Regions from separate parts of the Homo sapiens genome. Here regions 2, 3, 4 and 5 are each linked to region 1. The links are contacts of gene promoters, found by promoter capture Hi-C in human tissues and cell types (Jung and others, 2019). All regions are on one chromosome and are shown on one strand. Each heading gives the region's core, a stretch centred on a gene start or on the middle of the fragment in contact. The rest is flanking DNA. Distances are from core to core; before and after follow the strand shown. Region 1 holds the start of PHYKPL (5-phosphohydroxy-L-lysine phospho-lyase). Region 2 has its middle 16 kb from the start of RNF130. Region 3 overlaps LOC128966623 (a long non-coding RNA gene). Region 4 overlaps LOC128966623 (a long non-coding RNA gene). Region 5 has its middle 100 kb from the start of ADAMTS2.

Evidence for each region. Contacts are between HindIII fragments. The study calls those that stand out against the background at their distance.
Region 2: a contact is called between a fragment that was not itself captured here and the fragment with the promoter of PHYKPL in region 1, in 1 of the 25 tissues and cell types used here (lymphoblastoid cells).
Region 3: a contact is called between a fragment that was not itself captured here and the fragment with the promoter of PHYKPL in region 1, in 1 of the 25 tissues and cell types used here (lymphoblastoid cells).
Region 4: a contact is called between a fragment that was not itself captured here and the fragment with the promoter of PHYKPL in region 1, in 2 of the 25 tissues and cell types used here (mesendoderm cells and pancreas).
Region 5: a fragment that was not itself captured here is called in contact with the fragment with the promoter of PHYKPL in region 1 in 2 of the 25 tissues and cell types used here (IMR-90 fibroblasts and lymphoblastoid cells).

The regions. Positions count from the first base shown.
Region 1 is chr5:178,231,363-178,234,140 of GRCh38, reverse strand. PHYKPL (5-phosphohydroxy-L-lysine phospho-lyase) reads left to right here and starts at 1,339. Exons shown (of 13, transcript NM_153373.4): 1 at 1,339-1,649; 2 at 2,618-2,736. The coding sequence starts at 1,591. LOC112267937 (a long non-coding RNA gene) reads right to left here and starts at 103. Exons shown (of 3, transcript XR_002956238.2): 1 at 1-103. RefSeq lists silencers at 1,105-1,514, 1,595-1,914 and an enhancer at 1,177-1,715. The HindIII fragment of the contact is 15,074 bases long and covers 1-2,778 here.
Region 2 is chr5:180,085,947-180,088,724 of GRCh38, reverse strand. It overlaps the pseudogene LOC646058. Among named protein-coding and RNA genes, the nearest start is that of RNF130, 16 kb to the right of the region's middle. The HindIII fragment of the contact is 7,253 bases long and covers 1-2,778 here.
Region 3 is chr5:179,611,291-179,614,068 of GRCh38, reverse strand. All of the region lies in intron 4 of LOC128966623 (a long non-coding RNA gene), which reads right to left. Among named protein-coding and RNA genes, the nearest start is that of RUFY1-AS1, 8.9 kb to the right of the region's middle. RefSeq lists an enhancer at 182-241. The HindIII fragment of the contact is 3,640 bases long and covers 1-2,778 here.
Region 4 is chr5:179,531,365-179,534,142 of GRCh38, reverse strand. All of the region lies in intron 4 of LOC128966623 (a long non-coding RNA gene), which reads right to left. Among named protein-coding and RNA genes, the nearest start is that of RUFY1, 18 kb to the left of the region's middle. The HindIII fragment of the contact is 7,886 bases long and covers 1-2,778 here.
Region 5 is chr5:179,444,601-179,447,378 of GRCh38, reverse strand. No RefSeq gene overlaps it. Among named protein-coding and RNA genes, the nearest start is that of ADAMTS2, 100 kb to the right of the region's middle. The HindIII fragment of the contact is 3,174 bases long and covers 1-2,778 here.

The DNA of each region.
Region 1 (2,778 bases), core at 90-2,589:
TGAGAGGCTGAGATGGGAGGATCACATGATCCCAGGGAGGTAGAGACTGCAATGCTGCACTCCAGCCTGAACAACAGAATAAGACCCTTTCTTTAAAAAAAAAAAAAAATACAGGCCACAAGCAGTTAACCTCGCAGTTAATTTGGGAAGAATTTTTTCCAAAAATCATGTAAAATATTCAATTCAGCTTTACAGTTAAAAATAAGAAATTCCATTCTTTTAGGGAAGATGAAAAAGTCCTGTTGCATGGATGGTGGTGATGGCTGCACGACGATGTGAATGTACTTTTGCCACTGAATTGTATCCTTAAAAATGGTTAAAATGGTAAAATTTTGTTATGTATATTTTACACAATAAAGAAAAAAGAAACTCCAAATGTTCTTTAATAAATGCCTTAAGCGGCCGGGTGCGGTGGCTCACCCGGCCTGTAATCCCAGCACTCTGGGAGGCCGAGGCAGGCAGATCATCTGAGGTCAAGAGTTCAATAAATGCCTTATGCATCTTACAACTGTATTGGGAAGAGAAGAAGAAATCAGCAATGAGGGAGTGAAGCAGAGGCCTGGGAATCATGATGTGGACAGAAAGAAGGGACAATCAGGAGCCTCCCCTGCACCTGCTGCAGTCCCAGGCCCGTGTTCCAGGGTTCTTCAAGGCAGAAAGCCCCAGTGCCTCACCCCAGGAGGGGGCTTTTCTCTCATATCCCAGCCCCTTGGGAGGCTTTTTCTTCTCACTCCCTGGGCTGGGAGTCAAGAAGACCTCAGTAGGAGTCCAGCCTCTGCAGCCTTGCTGCGTGTCTGACAACAAAACCCTTTCCCTTTCTGGGCTTCAGGGTCACCGACATGTACCACAAGGAGGATTCCCAACCTCTCTTCTTGCCCAAACGCTGCATGATTCTCTCAGCGACGATACAGCTCGTCCGGTTCACCCTGCCTAGATTCTAGCAGGAACTATGGTGCCCTGAAGGTCAAGCCCATGGTGATCTCCTTGGTCAGCCCCAGAAGGGACCCTGGGCTCTCCTTCTGCTCTTCCTGCTGCCCCTTCATGGGGCTGGGAAAACCTAGGACCTGCTTCTCCCACCCTGAGGCCCCTACTGTGTACCAGGCCCGGGTAAGGTACCAGTCACATACTCGCACTTAGGCCTCACAGTTCATCCCATTTTATGCACAAGGCGACTCAAAGACTGAGTCTGGCCCAGAGAAGGCCTGCAGGAGCTCCGAGCCCCGCCTGGGCGCCGGGAGCAGGGGCGGGGTCGTCCGGGACCCTTTCCCGGAAGGGAGGCCGCAGGGGCCTGCGGGGCGGGGCCTGCGGGGCGAGGCCCGGGGCGCGTCCCGGAACCAGAGACGGGGCAGCGCTCGAGTTCCTGCGCGGGACTGCCAAGGCACGACCACGGGCCGGAAGGCTGCCAGGCCCAGTGGGCAAGCGAAGAAATGAACCACCGCAACGCGGGCGCTTCGGGGCGGGGCCGAGTGCGAACCTGAGCCCCAAATCCCGACCCAGGCAGGGGCGGGGCCCGGAGCGGGGCCTTGGAGGCCCAGCCCGCGCGGCGACGTCTCCGCGTGGCGTCACGGCACCGACTGACGGCCACCCACCATGGCCGCAGACCAGCGCCCGAAGGCCGACACGCTGGCCCTGAGGCAACGGCTCATCAGGTACCCGGGCGGGGGGCGGGCGGCGGGGGGCGCGGGGCTGCGCGGAGAGGCACGCGCACGCACGACGCACGCACGCACGCACTACGCACGCGCCTCCGGCTAGGAAGCCGCTGCTACCCATCCCGTCCGGCCGCTGCCCCGGCCCCGCTGGAGCTTCTAGGGCCCGAGGCGGGCGGCGCCGTTGGGCAGTCCCGGCGGGTGGTCTCCGGGGCCGCCTCCCCGACAGCGCCGTCTCCAGGCCGCCCAGTTCAGGAGACGGCCCCGCCCTCACCGCTGTTCGGCTGTGTCAGCCTCGCTTGGCAGCCTTTACTCCGGAGAAGACCTTCACCCTGGCGCCTGAGAGGACCTCACCCAGGGTGGCCCGTCAGCAGCACCTGGGCCTGGCTCGAGAGTGACCTGGGAGGGGGCTGAAAGGGCAGACAAGGGAGAGTCGGGGGAGTCGGTTCACAGGCAGCACACTTGACCTGTGAGGGGGCCCTCGGTGGGACGGTGGGTGAGGTCGCCTCCCACTGGAGCTTAGGGCTGGCACCCAGCGAGGGGCAGCAGGGCCACGTGGCTGGCAAGGAGCTGTTTAGGGCTGAGAGCCAGGCACCTAATGTTGGTGCCCTGGCCCATCCCATCGAAGACACGCGGCCTTATGGAGTCCCCATGGGACGGGGCAGCCACCTTTTCTCAGGATCCGGGAGACTGACGCGGACACATGCAGAAATGAGCAAGGAGGCCACAGAGGCTGAAAATGCTTTCAGAAACAATCCGAAGTTTCAGCGACTTGTTACCCCATCTGCTTCCTGCTTTGCAACCACCTGTGGAGTGGAGAGACAAGGCAGGGAAGCAGCACCTTGCCCTTCCAGCTCTCATTTCCCCCCCGCCACCAGAAACTGGGAAGGGGTGGGCGGGGGTCTGCGATGAGTAGACTTCACCCTTTCGGTCTTCAGACATGGCTGTCCACTCCTTGCCTGTCCCCACAGCTCTTCCTGCAGACTCTTTTTTCCCGAGGATCCTGTTAAGATTGTCCGGGCCCAAGGGCAGTACATGTACGATGAACAGGGGGCAGAATACATCGATTGCATCAGCAATGTGGCGCACGGTCAGTATCACACCTCAGGCTGGCAGGGCAGGAGAGGAAGGC
Region 2 (2,778 bases), core at 92-2,591, 1.9 Mb before region 1:
GAAGCCTCCGTATAACCTCCAGGATAGCTGAACACATGGAGGTTCCTGGAGGGCCGCGTGCCCAGGGAGGGGTAGAACCTTCGTGCCCCTTTCCCCATGCCTTGCCCAGGCATCTCTTCATCTGTATTCTTCCCAATACCCTTTATAATAAACCAGCAAATGTAAGTGTGTCCCCGAGTTCTGTGAGCCACTCTCGCAAATTAATTGAACGCAAGGAGGGCGTCATGGGAACCCCAACTTGAAGCCGGTCCCTCAGAAGTTCCTGAGGCCCTGACTTGGGAGTGGCATCAGAAGTGGAGGCAGTCTTGGGGACTGAGCCCCACCCTGTGGGCTCTGACGCTCTCTCCAGGTAGATAGCATTAGAATATAGAGGACACCCAGCTGGTGCCTAATGCAGAATTGGTTGCTTGCTTGCTGATGTGTGGGGAGAAACCCCCAACATTTGGTCACCGAAGCCTTCTGTGTTGCTTACTGTGGCGTGGGAGCAGAGGAAAAACGGTTTGTGTTTTTTCCACTCACAGATGGTTCTCTTGAAGTTTTTTCTGCCCATACATGCTGCACTGTTCTATACTGGGGCTGACCTCAGTTCAAAACTGGGAGACAAGAAAGAAAAAGCAACTGGGAAACTTGCCCTTGAATAGGTCATTCTTCAAGTTTCAGCTCTTCTCTCCTATCCACCTGCTATTGTTAACACTGCAGAGTCCTTAGCTAGTGACTTGTTGATTTTGTCCCTAGACAGCGGCATGGATGGATTGTAGTGGTCTCTTACTTCATCTTGGCCAGCTTCAGAATCCAAAATGTAATATTTAACCTCCCTAATTACGACGAATGTTAATTCTCCCATTTATTTTATTTTATTTTTTATTTTTTTGAGATGGAGTCTTGCTCTGTTGCTCAGGCTGGAGTGCAGTGGTGCAATTTCGGCTCACTGCAACCTCTGCCTCCTGGATTCAAAGGATTCTCCTGCCTCAGCCTCCCGAGTAGCTGGGATTACAGGTGCCCACCACCATGCCCGGGTAATTATTTTTTTGTATTTTTTAGTGGAGACAGGGTTTCACTATGCTGGTCAGGCCGGTCTCAAACTCCTGACCTTGGGTGATCCGCCCACCTCAGCCTCCCAAAGTGCTGGGATTACAGGCGTGAGCCACTGCGCCTGGCCGATTCTCCCATTTTAAGGATTAAAAAGTTGAGGTTTAAAGAGGTATAGTCATCTGCCCAACCTGTATAGCCAATGCTAAGGTTTATTTAAAATTAACTGATGAAACCTGTGTGGGGTGGAGTCAGAAAGCAGGAGAGGGTAAAAGAAAACAGGTGATGGAAGAACAGAGTGGTAGGGGAGGAAGAGGGTGAAATGGGAGAGAAAAGGAAGAGAAGGCCAGGCACAGTGGCTCACACTTGTAACCTGAATGCTTTGGGAGGCTGAGGTGGGAGGATCACTTGAGGCCAGGAGTTCCAGGCCAGCCTGGGCAGCATAGCAAGACCGTGTCTCAACAACAACGAAAAAGCATCCAGGCATGGTGGGGCGTGGCTGTAGCCTTATCTACTCAGAAGGCTGGGTCAGGAGCATGGCTTGAGCCTGGGAGTTTGAGGCTGCAGTGAGCTATGATTGTGCCACTGCCCTCCAGCCTGGGCAGCAGAGCCAGATCCTGTGTAAAAAAAAAAAAAAAAAGGCACTGCGGCTGCAGAATGGTCGGCGGTGGGAGGAAGTGCAAGCCCAGCGGGGAGGGGCCTGTGAAAAAATGGTTAATGTGAAGAAAAGTAAATTCTATGAAGCTGATGTGGTCTTCGACAAGAAGTAGAAAATCATTATAAGCTCTCTTCACCTGAAGATTCCGATCGTTTCTGGAAGTTCTTTGAAGAACTTGATCCTGAAAAGCCAGCTGATCACTTTCTGCAAGCCTCGGACTTCAGTTAGGTGGTCCTTATGATATCCTTGCTGGAAAACATAAAATTAAGAAAAATTCAACAGGCCTGAATGTTAGCCTTCATTGGAGGTTTTACCATGATCCTCCTGAGTTCCAGACCGTCATTATTGGAGATAATAAAACTCAGTACCACATGGGGTATTTCAGGGATTCTTCTGATGAACTTCCTGCATATGTTGGTATAAATGAAGCAAAGAAAAAGTGTACAATTGTTCCAAATGGAGATAATGTATTTGTGGCAGTCAAATTATTTTTGATGAAAAAACTTAAAGAAGTAACGCATAAAAAGAAAACTAGGCCGGGTGCAGTGGCTCACGCCTGTAATCCCAGCACTTTGGGAGGCCGAGGCGGGTGGATCACCTGAGGTAGGGAGTTTGAGACCAGCCTGACCAACATGGAGAAACCCCATCTCTACTAAAAATACAAAATTAGCCGGGCGTGGTGGCGCATGCCTGTAATCCCAGCTACTCGGGAGGCTGAGGCAGGAGAATCGCTTGAACCCGGGAGGTGGAAGTTGCAGTGAGCCAAGATCGTGCCATTGCACTCCAGCCTGGGCAACAACAGCAAAACTCTGCCTCAAAAAAAAAAAAAAAAAAACTAATCTCTTGAAAAACATAGATGAAAAACTCGCAGAAGCAGCCAGAGAAATGGGGTCCTCACTGGAACAGACAACCACGAAGATGAAACCGATAAGAAAGTTGTGACGAAGGCCTTTCATGGTGCAGGCTTGGCTGTTCCAGCAGATAAAAATGATGTTGGGTACAGAGAGCTCCCTGAAACAGATGCTGACGTCAACAGAATTTGCAAGACAATAGTTGAGGCTGCAAGTGAGGAGAGACTGAAAGCTTTTGTT
Region 3 (2,778 bases), core at 87-2,586, 1.4 Mb before region 1:
TGTCTTCAGTCTTCCCTCCAGTGCAACTGAAGGTAAACTCGTCTTTGGGGCCCTGGTGGAAGGGCTGTATGTCATTTGGCTGCACAGGACCTGATCTGAACTGCCTGTAACTCATTAAGCACTTGCACAAAACAAAGGGGGAGGCGCCAGTGCCCTCACTGCATGCCTGCATGTCTTTGAGGCCTTCATGCTTGGCTGGGAAGGTGCCGGAGGCAAGGGAGGTGTGATGAATATGTGGGTTTCTTCTAGCTCATAAGCTCATAGGTTTGTTTTTTTTTTTGAGGCAGAGTTATATTCTGTTGTCTCAGGCTGGATTGCAGTGGCGTGATCTCAGCTCACCTGCAACCTCCACCTTGTGGGCTTCTGCCTCAGCCTCCCAAGTAGTTGGGGTTACAGGCGCCCACCACCACTCCAGGCTAATTTTTTTTGTATGTTTAGTAGACACGGGGTTTCACGATGTTGGCCAGGCTGGTCTCCAACTCCTGACCTCATGAGATCTGCCCACCTCGGCCTCTGAAAGTGCTGGGATTATAGGCTGGAGCCATTGCCCAGCCTTCACAGATGGTTTTCAAATGGAAGTTTTGAACTTCTGTATTTTTGGGTCATTCCTAAAAATCAATTCCACTTGGAAGCAAAATTCCATGTAAGTCTCCTAAGGTAGAACGATAGGTAGAGATTGAGAGCTAACATGAGAAGTTTAAATGAACTCTTAAATATATCACGTTTTGGTAGTTCGAAGCTCCAACATGATGATAGCAAGTATTCAAGCTGCTTCCAAGTGGTGTACCTGAGCGAGTTAGAAACGCCACACTTGGAGACGAGTTCAGGAGTCCTTTATTAGCCGGCGACCGAGAGACGGCTACCGCATGAAAGTATCTCGGCCTCGAAGAAGGAGCTAGATTTTCTTTTATACTTTGGTTTGGAGAGGGGAGGGGGATTCTAGCTGCAGCCATCTTAGGGAAGAAAAACAGACAAAAAAGTTAAAGACAAATGGTTACAGGAAAACAGTTCCAGGTGCAGGAGCTTCAAATTCATCACAAAGTGACAGGTGAGGGGGCTCTGGGTGTTATCTACCGGACAAACATGGGGGCTTGATGGTACCATCTCTGAGTAAATTGCTGGGAACTGGACATCGCTTGCCTCAGCACCTTATCAGTTAACTGCACTCTTTGATACGTTGAGAGCTTGCACAAGTTAAAGTCCTTGAGGAAAGGGGGGTGGGTAAGGAGCCCTTGATGTCTTGTAAATGAAGGAGCCAAATGGAGTTGGCCTGGTTTTCTCAGCGAAGGGAGTCTTCATATTAAAAACAAGGTTAGGCATGTAAGGGAGAGTCTATTCGTGTTAATACAAGGTTGGGTATCACAAAAGCAGTCCTGAAAAGCACGCTCCCGGGGTTCCTTCAGCAGATGCTCAGGGGTGCTGCAGTGTGGGAACTGCCGCTACTACTTTCATCCCATTAGATTCAAGTCCCTGATAATGAAATTAGAATGTAGTGTCTGAACTAGGCTGTCACATAGGCTTGTGCCTTTTTTTTTTTTTTTTTTTTGAGACGGAGTCTCGCTCTATCGCCCAGGCTGGAGTGCAGTGGCGGGATCTCGGCTCACTGCAAGCTCCGCCTACCGGGTTCACGCCATTCTCCTTCCTCAGCCTCCCAAGTAGCTGGGACTACAGGCGCCCGCCACTACGCCCGGCTAATTTTTTTTTGTATTTTTAGTAGAGACGGGGTTTCACCGTTTTAGCCGGGATGGTCTCGATCTCCTGACCTCGTGATCCGCCCGCCTCGGCCTCCCAAAGTGCTGGGATTACAGGCGTGAGCCACCGCGCCCGGCCGCCCTTTAAAGCGAAGTGTGGATAAGCTTTCTCTTTTCTGCGATTACACGAGCTTTTCTTGAGTTTGTTGTTGGGGTAGAGCTAGGTAGGGTGGACAGAGTGGCTTAGTATCGGTCATTTCTAACCATCTGCCCACAGGAGCAGTGCATGCAGGAGACATGGAGGGGAGGGCTTTGCAGATCTACCTTGCTTGCCCCTACCAGGACTGGACACTAGCAGAGGGAAGGGTCTGGAATGTGTATTGTTGGTTTTGTCTTTGGCAGGTCTAGAGAACAGCAGTTGTCGGGGGAGGCAGTGTTGAGAGTTGTTGAGCTGTGTTCTAAGCTTGGTTACTGCCCTTGAGATCTTGCGTTAATAGTTTGGTACTGAGGCCCAGTATTGAGAAAGATTGAAGGTCCCTTCTCTGGGTTCTTTAGTTAACTGTGGTACATTTAAGGATAAAGCTTGCCCTGTTAGAGAAGGGAGTAGAACTAGAAACTTGGAGTAAGGTTAAACTAAATCCAGAGCCATACGGCTAGTCTAGGGCAGGGGCGGTGGCTAACGCCTGTGATTTCAACACTTTGGGAGGCTGAGGTGGGTGGATCACCTGAGGTCAGGAGTTCGAGACCAGCCTGGCCAACATGGTGAAACCCTGTCTCTGCTAAAAAATACAAAAATTAGCTGGGCATGGTGGTGCACGCTTATAATACCAGTTACTGAGGCAGAGGTTGCAGTGAGCCAAGATCGTGCCATTGCACTCTAGTCTGGGTAACGAGCGAAATTCCTGTCTCAAAAAAAAGTCTAGAAGCATTATGGTTCTTTGGAATCTTATGCTCCATAGCTTGTTTGCAGTAACTTAACCTCCTGACCTTGTCAGTTGGAATCTGCATTTTAAACAAAATCCTGACCACTCACCCCTACCTCAGTTGACTTGGGAAGTGCTGCCTTAAAATATCTATCTTTCATTTC
Region 4 (2,778 bases), core at 171-2,670, 1.3 Mb before region 1:
CAGGCATGACGTTGTGCAGCAGATAACACGTTCATCAATGGGCTGAAACTTTCAACCCATTGAACAGCAACTCCCCACTTCCTCCTCCCCTCAGCCCCTGGAAACTACCATTGTACTCTCTGCTTCTGTGAGTTTGACTATTTTATTTTAATTAATTCATTAATTTTTTTAGACAGAGTCTCGTTTCGTCACCCAGGCTGGACATGATCTCGGCTCACTGCAACCTCCACCTCCCAGGTTTAAGTGATTCTCCTGCCTCAGCCTCCTGAGTAGCTGGGATTACAGGTGCCTGCCGCCATGCCCAGCTAATTTTTACAATATTTTTAGTAGAGACGGGGTTTCACCATGTGGCCAGGCTGGTTTCGAACTTCTGACATCAAGTAATCTGCCCACCTCGGCCTCCCAAAGTGATGGGATTACAGGCATGAGCCACCACACCCAGCTGGTTTCCTTTTTTTCTTTTTTCTTTTTCTTTTTTGAGAGGGAGTCTCACTCTGTCCCCCAGGTTGGAGTGTAGTGGAATGATCTCAGCTCACTGCAACCTCCGCCTCCCAGGTTCAAGTGATTCTCCTGCCTTGCCTCCTGAATAGCTGAGATTACAGGCATGCACCACCACGCCCAGCTAATTTTTGTATTTTTCGTAGCGAGAGAGTGGGTTTCACTATGTTGGCCAGGCTGATGTCAAACTTCTGACCTTGAGTGATCCACCTGCCTCTTCCTCCCAAAGTGCTGGGATTAGAGGCCTGAGCCACCGCGCCCAGCCGGCGGTTTCTTTCTAGGTAGACGGTGATATCATCTTCGAATTATGACAATTTTCTCTCATCTTCCAATCCTTACATCTTTTCTTTCTTTTTCTTTCCTTAGGGCATTGACCAGGAGAATGCAGTTCTGTGTTAAACCACAGGGGATTACTGAGTATTTTTGTGTTAATTAATCCTGACTTAAAGGATTAATTAATTAAGGATCTTTGCAATTTTCTTCCTCAAGTAAAATTTTGATGTAAGCTTTTGGTATATGAAATTTACTAGTTGAGAAAGTTTCTTCCAGTCTTAATTAGTTAAGAGGGAAAAAATCATAAGTAGGCTTTAAATCTTATCAAATTTCTTTCTGAATAGACTGAGATAATTATATGTTTTTTTTCTTTTTACTGTGGTAGCTCATGTTAATAGATTTTTTGATGTTGAAAAATTCTTCCCAGGACTCCGGGAGTCTGAAGCAGGAGGATCGCTTGAGCTCAGGAGTTTGAGACCAGCCTGGGCAACATAGTGAGACCTCATCCCTATTTAAAAAAAAAAAAAAATATATATATATATATATGTGTGTATATATACATATACACACACATGTATACCTATATAGACACACATATATACATATATATACACACATACTATAAAAAAGAAAAATTCTTATATTCCTAAGCTAAGTTTTACTTGATTTTATATGCAGTTGGCCCCTCGTATCCTGGGGTTTTACATCTGTGGTTTCAATCAACCGTGGATCAAAAGTATTTGAAAAACAAAAGCAATAAAAAAAAAACAAGAAAAAATAATATAAATAAAAAAATCAATACAACAACTTTTTTTTTGAGACAGTCTTGCTTTGTTGCCTAGGCTTGAGTGCAGTGGTACCATCACAGCTCACTGCAGCCACAACTTCCTGAGCTCAAGTGAGCCTCCCACTTCAGCCTCCTGAGTAGCTGGGACCACAGGCTGGTCTCGAACTCCTGGGCTCAAGTAATCCTCCTGCCTCAGCCTCCCAAAGTGTTGGGATTACAGGAGTGAGCCACCATGCTTGGCCCCAACAGCTATTTACATAGCATTTACATTGTATTAACTAGTAGTGTAAATAATTTAGAGGTGATTGGGCCGGGCATGGTGGTTCACGCCTGTAACCCCAGCACTTCGGGAGGCCGAGACGGGCAGATCACGAGGTCAGGAGATCGAGACCATCCTGGCTAACACAGTGAAACCCCGTCTCCACTAAAAATACAAAAAATTAGCTGGGTGTGGTTACAGGCGCCTGTAGTCCCAGCTACTCGGGAGGCTGAGGCAGGAGAATGGCGTGAAGCCGGGAGGCAGAGCTTGCAGTGAGCCGAGATCACACCACTGCACTCCAGCCTGGGCGACAGAGCAAGACTCCATCTCAAAAATAAAATAAAATAAAATAAAATTTAGAGGTGATTTAAATTATACCTCTAAATAATTAACCTGGGACAGAGGATGTGCATAGGTTATAGGTTATACGCAAATACAGATGCTCCTTGACTTATGATGGGGTTACAACCAAATACATCCATCGTATAGATTGACCATATGGCGAGTTGAATTTACAATGGGTTTATCCAGATGTAACCCTATTGTAAGATGAGAAGCGTTCTGAATGCCCATTGCTTTTGCACCATTGGCAAGTCAAATCCCAATTGAAGCCATCATAAATTGGGGACTGACAGTACAATGCTACTTTATATAAGGGACTTGAGCATTGTGGATTTTGGGGGGAGGGTCCTGGAACGAATCCCCTGTGGATACAGAGGGACTGCTGTATATATACATCTACAGGGCAAGATAGTTTATTTTTAAAAATTATACCATGTCGATTGTGATGACTGGCATATAGATTATGATGGTTTTTCTCTGATGTTGTATACTGAAATGTTTTCATAGGACCAAGAATGTTAGAAAAATAAAGATCTTAAATACAATATGATAAATTTATATATATACTATTTGATTCTGTTAGCTATATTTTGTTTTATATCAGTGATCATAAGTAAAA
Region 5 (2,778 bases), core at 87-2,586, 1.2 Mb before region 1:
TTAGTTGCCAACTTTCAACATTTCAGAAATTTTATATAAAAATCTGGGTTTCTGGCTTTCTTGGAAATTACAAGATCTGGCCGCTCTGGGTCCGAATGTCCACTTGGCCACGGCTGGCCGGAGGGAGCAGCGGCTGCGCACAAATTCACACCTGTGTCCTCCGCTCTGCCCGGGCCCCACCCAGCCGCTCCTCCCATCTCTCTGCCTCTTGGTCCCCGAAGGCACCTGTGGGTTTGAACATGCTGAAGACCCTGAAGTCCTTGAAGACAAACAAGTATTTTGTTCTGTTGTCTGTGTCCCTGGAAGATCCTTTCCTGGAGTTCACAGGGCCTGGGGCAAGGGTGCAATCAGAAGCCCGGGTCTCCAAAGTGAACATCAGTCGCTCCTCCCTTGTGGTCTGCAGGACCCGAGGGCTCCCACGACTTATTCAGAGGTCTGTGAAGTAAAAGTATTTTCATGTGACTGTTAAGACATTATTTGCCCTTTTCATCATGTTGACATTTAGTGTAAAAGGTACAAAATGACCGTGGGTAAAACTAATTCAGATCAAGGCAGTGGATCCCCGATGTGCCAGCTCTGTGTTCCTTACTGCTCTACACTCCCAGAGCCACAAAAAAAATGACTTTACTTAAGAACGTGCTGGGTTTTTTTGTTTTCTTGTGTTGTTAAGACGGGATCTCACTATGTTTTCCATGCTGGAGTGTAGTGATGGGATCCTGGCTCGTTGCAGCCTCCACGTCCTGTGCCCCAGCGATCTTCCTGCCAGAGCCTCCCAAGTAGCTGAGACCACAGGCATGTGCCACTATGCCTGTTTATTACTTTTTTTGGAGAGACAGGGTCTCCCTTTGCTGCCCAGGCTGGCCTGGAACTCCTGGGCTCAAGTGATCCTCTTACTTGAACATCTCAAAGTTCTGCCATTAGAGGTGTGAGCCACTGTGTCCAGCAAGAATGTCCCTGATAGCAAAGTAAAATTTATTAGTTTTTAAAAATCTTGACCTCTGGGCACGTGTCTTTTTAGTGTTTTGTGTCATGAAGTGGGAAGTAGGAAACATTTCTGCTACGTTCTCAACTACGTTTGTCTCAAAGAAAAGCACGTGTGCGATTGTTTGAGTTGCAAGCTGAACTAGCCCCTTTTCTCAGGGAATACAATTTCTACCTGGAGGGTTGGTCAACGGTCATACGATGGTTATTCAGACTTGGATATTTGGAGGACATTCTATTGAAAACCAGCAAAGTAAGCATATCTCTTCAAGGAAAATAACTGACAGCACGGAACAGTTATTTTTAAACAACTCCTAAAGATAAAATTTGAGCTCATTCCTCAAGATGAAATTTGGGCTTTCAAGCAAAAATTAGAATTTTGGCAAACCTGTGTCTGCCACTGTAAGCTTGCTGGTTTGTCGGTACCTAAAGACTTTTCTGATGAGATTAATGATGATGTTAATAAATGTGGTTTTTGATATTGTGCAAAGACATGTGTCAACATTTGGAGGATCTACATAACTCAGTGAACCAAAATTTTCCAAATGACCAATGCATGATATTTCCGCCAGGAAAAAACAATCATCCTCTGTGGATCTCTCACACTCCTACAGGTCTTGCTGGGTGTGCCAAGAATGCAAAGCTTGAGCACTCTTTTTATCCAAACTATTTCTTTCTTTTTTTTTTTTGAGACAGAGTCTCACTCTGTCCCCCATGCTGGAATGCAATGGCATGATCTCGGCTCACTGCAACTTCCGCCTCCTGGGTTCATGCAGTTCTCCTGCTTCAATCTCCAGAGTAGCTGGGACTTCGGGCACCTGCCACCACGCTCAGCTAATTTATTTATTTGTTTATTTATTTGAGACAGTCTCACTTTGTCTCTGAGGCTGGAGTGCAGTGGCATGATCTCAGCTCACTGCCACCTCTGCCTCCCTGGTTCAAGTGATTCTTCTGTCTCAGCCTCTCAAGTAGCTGGGATTACAGGCGCACACCAGCAAGCCCGGCTAATTTTTGTATTTTTACTAGATATGGGGTTTCACCATGTTGGCCAGGCTGGTCTTGAACTCCTGACCTCAAGTGATCCGCCCACCTCCCAAAGTGCTGGGATTAAAGGCATGAGCCACTGTGCCTGGTCCATCCAAAGTATTTCTAAGATTTATGCTTATAGTGAGCAGCCTTGAGGAATGAGATACTGTCTCCCTCTGGGACAAACAGCAGGCTTACTTACTGCATGCTACAAAACAGACGAGTCCCCAAGCTCAGGGTTCCTCAGCTACAGCACAAACCAACTGTGTGTGTAGCATCTATCTCAGCTCCTCTGCATCACCTCTGCAGGACTTGGGGGACAGAGGGAACAAGTGCAAAACAGGCTGGTGCCCGCTCTGCTTGCTGTGTGAGCAGCAATAATAAAGTCCTTTGTCTCTGACACAGGAATCTCATCTCTTTTGCCAGCATCCACGCAACAGTAACAAGTTAATGGATTAGTTTGTAGTAGAGTAAGATGAAATCCCAGTCCTGATGGTTCCATGCCCATGCAAACATGCATGGGCAAAAGATCCATTCAAAGTCCAAGAAAAATGAATGAGTTTTGATGGAGCAGAGAACAAAAGTTTATCACTCTGGATTCAATTTCACATTGCATATAGCAGGGTGGATATTAGGTTGAAGGGAACGAGGTGCCGGGTCAGCAGCTGCACACCCCTGAGAACCAGCGCCTCCCTGAGTTTGCACCCTAGGCCTCACTTGTCTCACCCTAGTCTGGCCCCAGCAACTAATGCTTAGGAAACTGCTACTCGT